Linked DNA regions of Homo sapiens: region 1 is linked to region 2. The links are contacts of gene promoters, found by promoter capture Hi-C in blood cells and fetal thymus (Javierre and others, 2016). All regions are on one chromosome and are shown on one strand. The core of a region is centred on a gene start or on the middle of the fragment in contact, and the rest is flanking DNA. Distances in the headings are between cores, read along the strand shown. Region 1 overlaps LINC03036 (long intergenic non-protein coding RNA 3036). Region 2 holds the start of PRLHR (prolactin releasing hormone receptor).

Region 1 (3,672 bases), core at 1,002-3,501, 390 kb after region 2:
GACAAAGAAAAGCCCTGGTAGACCTGATGGCTTCACTGGTAAATTCAATCAAACATTTACAGAAGGGCAACAATCCTTCTCAAACTTTTCCAAGAAATTGAAAAGGAAGGAAAACTTCTTTACTCATTGTATGAGGCCAGCATTACCCTGATACCAAAGCTAGATAAAGACACTACAAGAAAACAAAACTACAGACCAATGTCCTTTATGAACATGGATGCAAACATTGTCAAAAAATACTAGCAAACCAAATTCAGCAGCTTATTAAAAGCCTTATACACCATAACCAAGTAGGATTTAGTCCTCAAACAAGGATGGTTCAACATACAAAAATTGACCAATGTGACATACAACATTAACAGGATGAAGGGGAAAAAAACCACATGATCATCTCAATTGATGCAGAAAAAATAGCATGTGACAAAATTCAACAGCCTTTCATGACAAAAAAAAAAAAAGCCTCAACAAAGTAGGAATGCAAAAAATAAATAAATAAATACCTCAGTTGGCCAGGGGCAGTGGCTCATGCCTATAGTCCCAGCACTTTGGGAGGCCAAGGTGGGTGGATCACCTGAGGTCAGGGGTTCGAGACCAGCCTGGCCAACATGGTGAAACCCCGTATCTACTAAAAATACAAAATTAGCCAAGCATGGTGACACATGCCTGTAATCCCTGCTACTTAGGAGGCTGAAGTCAGAGAATTGTTTGAGCCTGGGAGGCACAAGCTGCAGTGAGCCAAGAGTACACTGCACTCCAGCCTGGGCAACAGAGTGAGACTCCGTCTAAAAAAAAAAAAAAAAAAAAAAAACCTCAATATAATAAAACCCATTTATGAAAAACCCACAACAAATGTCATACTCAATGGTAAAAGACTAAAAGCTTGTTATCTAAGATCAGGAAGAAGGCAAGGATGCCCACTTTTGCCACTTCAACATAGCAGTGGAAATTCTAGCAAGAGAAATTCGTCAAGAAAAAGAAATAAAAACATCCAATTGGAAAAAAAAAAAGAAGCAAAATTATCTCCGTTCAGAGATGATATGATTTTCATATGTAGAAAACCCTAAGTATTTCACCCAAAAAAAAGCTGGAACTAATAAATGAATTCAGCAAAGTAGTAAGATACAAAATCAACACACAAAAACTAGTTGCATTTCTAAACACTAACAATGCGCAATCTGAAATGGAAATTACAAAAACAATTCCATGTACAACAGTAACAAAATGAATAGAATACTTAGGAATTAACCAAGGGGGTGAAAGATTTGTAGAATGAAAACTACAAAACATTGCTGAAATAAAGAAGACATAGGCTGGGCACGGTGGCTCATGTCTATAATCCCAACACTTTGGGAGGCTGAGGTGAAAGGATCACCTGAGCCCAGAAGTTCAAGACCAGTCTGGGAAACATAGTGAAACCCCATCTTTACAAAAAAGAAAAAATACAAAAATGCGACAGACGTGGTGGCACACACCTGTAGTCTCAGCTACTCAGGAGGCTGAGGTAGGAGGATTCCCTGAGCCCTGGAGGTTGAGGCTGCAGTGAGTCATGATTGCACCACTGCACTCCAGGCTGGGCAACAGAGTGAGACCCTGTCTCAAAAAAAAAATAATAAAAATAAGTGAATAAATAAAATAAAGAAGACATAAATAAATGGAAACACATCCCACATTCATGGATTGGAAAACTACTACTACTAAGATGTCAATACTACCCAAAGCAATCTACAGATTCAATGCAATCCCTAACAAAATCCTAATGATGTTTTTCAAAGAAATAGAAAACCCCATCCTAAAATTCACATGGAATCTCAAAGGACCATGAACAGCCAAAACAATCTTGAAAAAGAACAGCAAAGCTGGAAAATTCATACTTCCTGATTTCAAACTTACTACAAAGCTATGGTAATCAAACCAGTGTGGAACTGGCATAAAGATAACATATAGACCAATGGAATAGAGAGCCCAGAAATAATAAACCCTCACATGGGGTTTATTAATTTTTTTTTTTTGAAACAGAGCTTCACTCTTGTCGCCTAGGTTGGAGTGCAGTGGCGGGACCTCGGCTCACTGCAACCTCTATCTCCTGGGTTCAAGCGGTTCTCGTGCCTCAGCTTCCTGAGTAGCTGGGGTTACAGGAGCCCACCACCATGCCTGGCTGGTTTTTGTATTTTTAGTAGAAACAGGGTTTTACCATGTTAGCCAGGCTGGTCTCAAACTCCTGACCTCAGGTGATCCACCCACCTCAGCCTCCCAAAGTTGCGGGATTGCAGGCATGAGCCACCCTGCCCAGCTGGATTTACTGATTTTTGACAAAGGTGCCAAAACCATTCCATGGCAAAAGACAGTTTATTCAACAAATGGTGCTGGGAAATCTGAACATCCACAAGCAAAAGAATGAAACTGGACCCTTACCTAACACCATATACAAAAATTAACTAAAAAATGGATCAAAGACCTAAATGTAAGACCTAAAACTATAGATGCTTAGAAGAAAACATAGGGCTCAGAGAGCTCAGGAGAAAGGAGAATAGGGAGTTAGTGTTTAATGGGTATAGAGTTTCAGTTTTACAGCATGAAGAGTTCTGGAGGTAGATGGTAATGATATTTGCACATCATTATGAAGGTCTGTAATAGTAGATGCAAAAGTAATTGCTGTTTTGCCATTACCTTTAATGGGAAAAACTGCAATTACTTTTATGCCAAATTAATACGTTGATATAACTGTACACTTAAAAATGTTTAAAATGTTAAAATTTGTTATGTGTATTCCACTACAATTTTTTAAATGGAAAAAAAAAAAGGAGAAGGAGATGAAGGATTAAGACAGACACACAGGGAGGGAAGATGGCAATCTACAAGCTAAGAAGAGAGGCCTCAAAAGAAACCAATCCTGCCCACACCTTGATTTTGGAATTCTAGCCTCCAGAATTGTGGGAAAAGTAATTTCTGTTGCTTAAGTCACCCAGTCTGTGGTACCTTGCTAGGAGATCCCTAGAAAACTAATACACTCATCTATGAGCCTTGCTGGGAGACAGAGCCCAACCCCCACTGCAGAAGCAAAAAAATGCCAGGTTCTCATCTTGGATTGGTCAAACAAATACATCTTGAACTTTAAGTGGGAGGCTGGTGACATCGAGAAGCAGAGAACCCAGTTTGGTGGATGTCACAGGAACACCAGATTTCCAGGAGCTGCACAACATATAGTTGCTGTGGTCCCCTGTCTGCAGCAGACACAGGTGTGTCGATACACCTGGCCATCCTTTGGTGGTCCCACCAGAGTGCTGATGGCATAGTGCCTCATTGTGGTCAAGTGAGCTGGCATCCCCACTGTACAGAAAAGGTTCACACAGCAGGCCTGAGACTTCTGTCCTTAGAAAGGGCTGCTTGAAAGACTGTCCCTGGGCTGGTATCTGGGAACTTGGATTTGGGGAGTATTTTCCCTATTCGCTAACTGTTAAGACGGGCTAATCAGTTTGTCAATTAGGGAATGCTTAAATGTTTGTACAATGTGGTTTATGCTAGACACCTGCTTTCCTTCTGAGGGTCTGGTAATTTGATACATGCTAGGCAAAGAGTGCCTATGAAATTGACCCTTCATAAAAACCCTGGACTCCTAGGCACAGACAAGCTTCCCCAGTTTACAACATTCACACCTGTTCTCTCAGTCTGATG
Region 2 (3,587 bases), core at 1,018-3,517:
ATGACCTCTTAAGTGAATTGGACCTTTTCCTCTTTATTTATCTATCTCTTCATTGACTAATTCGTCTCATCATTTTTAAATAGTAGTTGGGGAGGAAAGGGGAGAAACAATAGCAAGACCTTTCTAAAGGGAGCTTGTAGGTGTTTTTGTACTATAAACTCAAGTGGTTTTAAAACGAAACCCTTTTGGCATATAAAGGTCTTACTCAGGAAATGCTGAAATCCTAGATGTAGAGTTTTAATACATATTTACCTGAAATTCTAGGAATGCAAGGGTTCAAATGGACTAAGCAATATCATGGTACTCTCAGCTGGGTCCTTTTTCTAAAGGCAAACTGAAAATCTTTACCAAGCCCAATGCATTCCTTTTAAATCCCATTCATATTGTTCATTTCACCAACGAGCAGGAGGAGGGGACGCCAGGAAGGCAATCGTGGTTCTGAAATACTTTTCTGAACGTGGAGAAAAAGTTTTGTTTGTCCTTCAAGGGCATAAAGAAGAAATAAGAAATCCTCTTCCCTCTCTTTGGCCTCCCCCAAGCAAAGAGCAAGACTCTCACCAAAGCCCGCTTAACATTTTACAAACACACAAGGACAAGACAGACAGCCGGACAAGAGGGCTGGGCTGGAAATGTTGCCCTATGTTGGCTTAGCTAGCTCTGGTGCTGAGAATAAGCACCAGATTGACCTCGAGTGGTGCCCTAGGAGGCCAGTTGAAGTGGAGCTCCTTGACCAAGGCCTGGCTAAGTGGCATCAGATGACCACGCTGACGGTCATATTCTGGCCATGGGGGGCTATCTTGCGGGGCCAAGCGACCAACAGTTTGCGCAGCTCCTCGCGGAAGCTGTCGTGCAGCCAGGCGTAGATGAAGGGGTTGTAGCAGGCCGAACTCATGGCGAGCCAGTGGCAGAGCAGCTGCACCAGCCCAAAGGCGTAAGGGTCGATGGCGTGGGGGTCGAGGTCCCGCAGCAGGTTGAAGACGTGCAGCGGCAGCCAGCAGACGGCGAACACCACCACGATCACCACCAGCAAGCAGAAGGTGCGCCGGCGCCGAGCGCGGTCCCAGTCGGCCTGGCTCTGGGTCACGCAGCCCGGCACCACGCGGTTGCGGAGCTTCACTGACACCCGGACGTAAGACAGGAGGATGACCAGCAGAGGGAGCAGGTAGGTGACCAGCAGCAGCCCCCAGGCGTAGAGCTGGCGCTGGCGCTCCTGGGAGCCCCAGAACTCCTCGCAGAGGCGCACGTCGTGCGGCTTGAGCTCCACGTGATAGGTGTGCACGGCGGCGGGCAGCGCCAGCACCGCGGACAGCGCCCAGATGGCCAGCACAGCGTAGGCGCTGAGGCGCAGCGAGATGCGCCGCCTCAGCGGGTGCACCAGCACGACGTAGCGGTCCACTGCGATGGTGGTGAGCGTGAACACCGACACATAGACGGTGACCGGCTGCAGGAAGAAGACCAGGTGGCACAGGCCGCCGCCGAACACCCAGCCGCGTGGCTCGAAGGCATAGGCCAGCGTGAGCGGCACGCAGGCGGTGCACATGAGCACGTCGGACAAGGCCAGGTTGCCGATGAGGAAGTTCGTCACGTTGTGCAGCCGGCGCACCCGCGCGATCACCAGCACCAGCAGGCAGTTGCCCACCAGCCCCACGACCACCACGACGCTGTAGAGCAGCACGATCAGCCCCTTCAGCTGATGCACCAGCTGCAGGCTCTGGAAGGGCGTGACGGCTGGAGCGTCCGCGCCAGCCACCGACCCGTTGCCCGCCGAGGCCTCTGCGCTCTGGTTGGCGGGAGTTGTGACCGCCGGCGGCAGCCCAGAAAATAAGTCAGAAACCCTGGGGCCCCGAGTGGTCGATGAGGCCATGGCCACCTGTTCAAAGGTAATCAAAGTCCGTCACTTCCCTTGCCATACTCCATCCGACCTCCTACACCAGCCGCGCCCCTCCCCCATCGCCTGAGTCCTCCCTTGGGAATAACCGGCCACAGAACAACAGCAAAAGTAGCAAAAAGTGTTGTCCTCTCACCTCTGTAAAATAAACCTAAGCACGGTTAGAACATACGGTTTATTTAAACGCTTCCGCCTCTATTTACGGTCCTCGCAGTCCACGCAGGCAGACTCAGGAGCGCGATCCTACCTGGGAGTGGGGTTTGGAGAGCGGGAAAGCACTCGCGGGAAGAAGGGGCAGAATTTCTGCTGGCCCTCGGTAGTCCTCTGCCCACGTCGGTGATCCGGTCTCGCTTCTCCGCGGGAGCTGAACGGATCCAAATGTTTCCCAGTGGGCTAGCAGCTTCTTAGAGGGACTGGGAGCGCCTCCCCTCAGCTCCGCCCCCCACTCCAGCTCCCATGTATGGAAAATAGGGGTGGAGCGCGCTCTGCCATGCTCGGTGCTTAGAGAACTAGTGAAGAGGACAGTGTGGGGAGGATGGAATCCGAAACGGGAGGAGGGGCCGGCAAACCTGGCCAGAGCAGCGAAGAGGACGAATCTCTACTGCAGGAGCTTGCACGGCCCCTGGAGGGTCAGGGTCCGGAGGAGCGCACAGTGGAGGAGGGCGGAGGAGAGGCGCGAAGCGTCAGGCTATCGGGAGGAGCCGGTGCAGTCTTAGGAGGGAAGGAGCGGGGAAGGAAGTAGCGGTGGGAGATTGCAATGCAGCTGGGGGCTTGAGAGAGGCACGACTGACCCGTTCTTAAAGGCTGGATCCTGCCTAGCGGCCAGGTTGCGGAGGGCAGAGACGCTAGAGGGCTCGGGCTGGGATTTAACAGCAGAGCCTGGAGCTGGTCGCGGACCTGAGGACCCTCACCCTCCCGTGGCCCCGCCACACGAGCCCCCTGCTTGGCTGCAGCGCGCTCAGCGGGCAGCGGGTCCGGCCAAGCCAAAGGCAGGAGTCAGCACCACGGACAGCTTCCGCTGGATCTGCCGCCCCTCGGGCGGATGATGTGGGGAGGAGCAGGGGAAAATGACTAGGGAATTCCTGCCCCTCTCTGGATCCGGGTGTTTGGGGAAGGAACCTGGTCCGGTTCAAAGACCTGCCTCGCTGCCTGCTTTCTGGGCTGGGGCTGAGAAGAGTAGGGTGGAGTGGAGGCAGCTGAGCCGGGGGCCTGGGGGTCGGAGACTCATGACTTTTGCTCCTCTTGGTGGTCACCGCACTCAGTGCCAAGGACGGCGTCGTCTTTTACCTCCCGGGGTCAGAAAATGCAGCTCTCCTGCCAGTTATTCTACACAGGCACACTTCAGTCTGGCCCAGCGACTCCCCGGCTCACCCTTTCTCTCGCTTTCTTTCTCGGCTACCGCGACCTGTGCCGTATCTGGCTGCTTCTCCCAGCACAGAGTAGTTCCTGGACTGAGACTTGACCCCTCCCTCCTTGACTGAACACCCACAGGCCTCTTCTCTTCATTTTAGGATTTTTTAAAAATACTGGTAATTGCAGATTTCAGCTAGGGTAACAAAAGTAACAAACATTTGAGAAGCTTAGGCGTTTCATAAAATCTTCAGTAGTATTAAGTCCTCATTGAAATGCAAATTAGCCTGGCCCACGGGGCAAGAGCCAGGGGAGGAGGGGCCTTTGTAAGCTCCCTCCTTAGAAGCTA

What was found. The method cuts DNA at HindIII sites, captures the fragments that hold promoters and counts their contacts. A CHiCAGO score of 5 or more calls a contact.
Region 1: a contact is called between a fragment that was not itself captured here and the fragment with the promoter of PRLHR in region 2, in 1 of 17 cell types (M1 macrophages). The highest score is 5.1, in M1 macrophages.

The regions. Positions count from the first base shown.
Region 1 is chr10:118,987,921-118,991,592 of GRCh38, forward strand. The region is part of intron 2 of LINC03036 (long intergenic non-protein coding RNA 3036); the gene reads right to left. Among named protein-coding and RNA genes, the nearest start is that of LINC03036, 40 kb to the right of the region's middle. The HindIII fragment of the contact is 2,749 bases long and covers 878-3,626 here.
Region 2 is chr10:118,593,381-118,596,967 of GRCh38, forward strand. It overlaps PRLHR (prolactin releasing hormone receptor), which reads right to left and starts at 2,268. Exons shown (of 2, transcript NM_004248.3): 1 at 2,136-2,268; 2 at 1-1,870. The coding sequence starts at 1,864. The coding sequence ends at 752. RefSeq lists enhancers at 1,227-2,035, 2,036-2,844, 2,845-3,587. The HindIII fragment of the contact is 5,195 bases long and covers 1-3,465 here.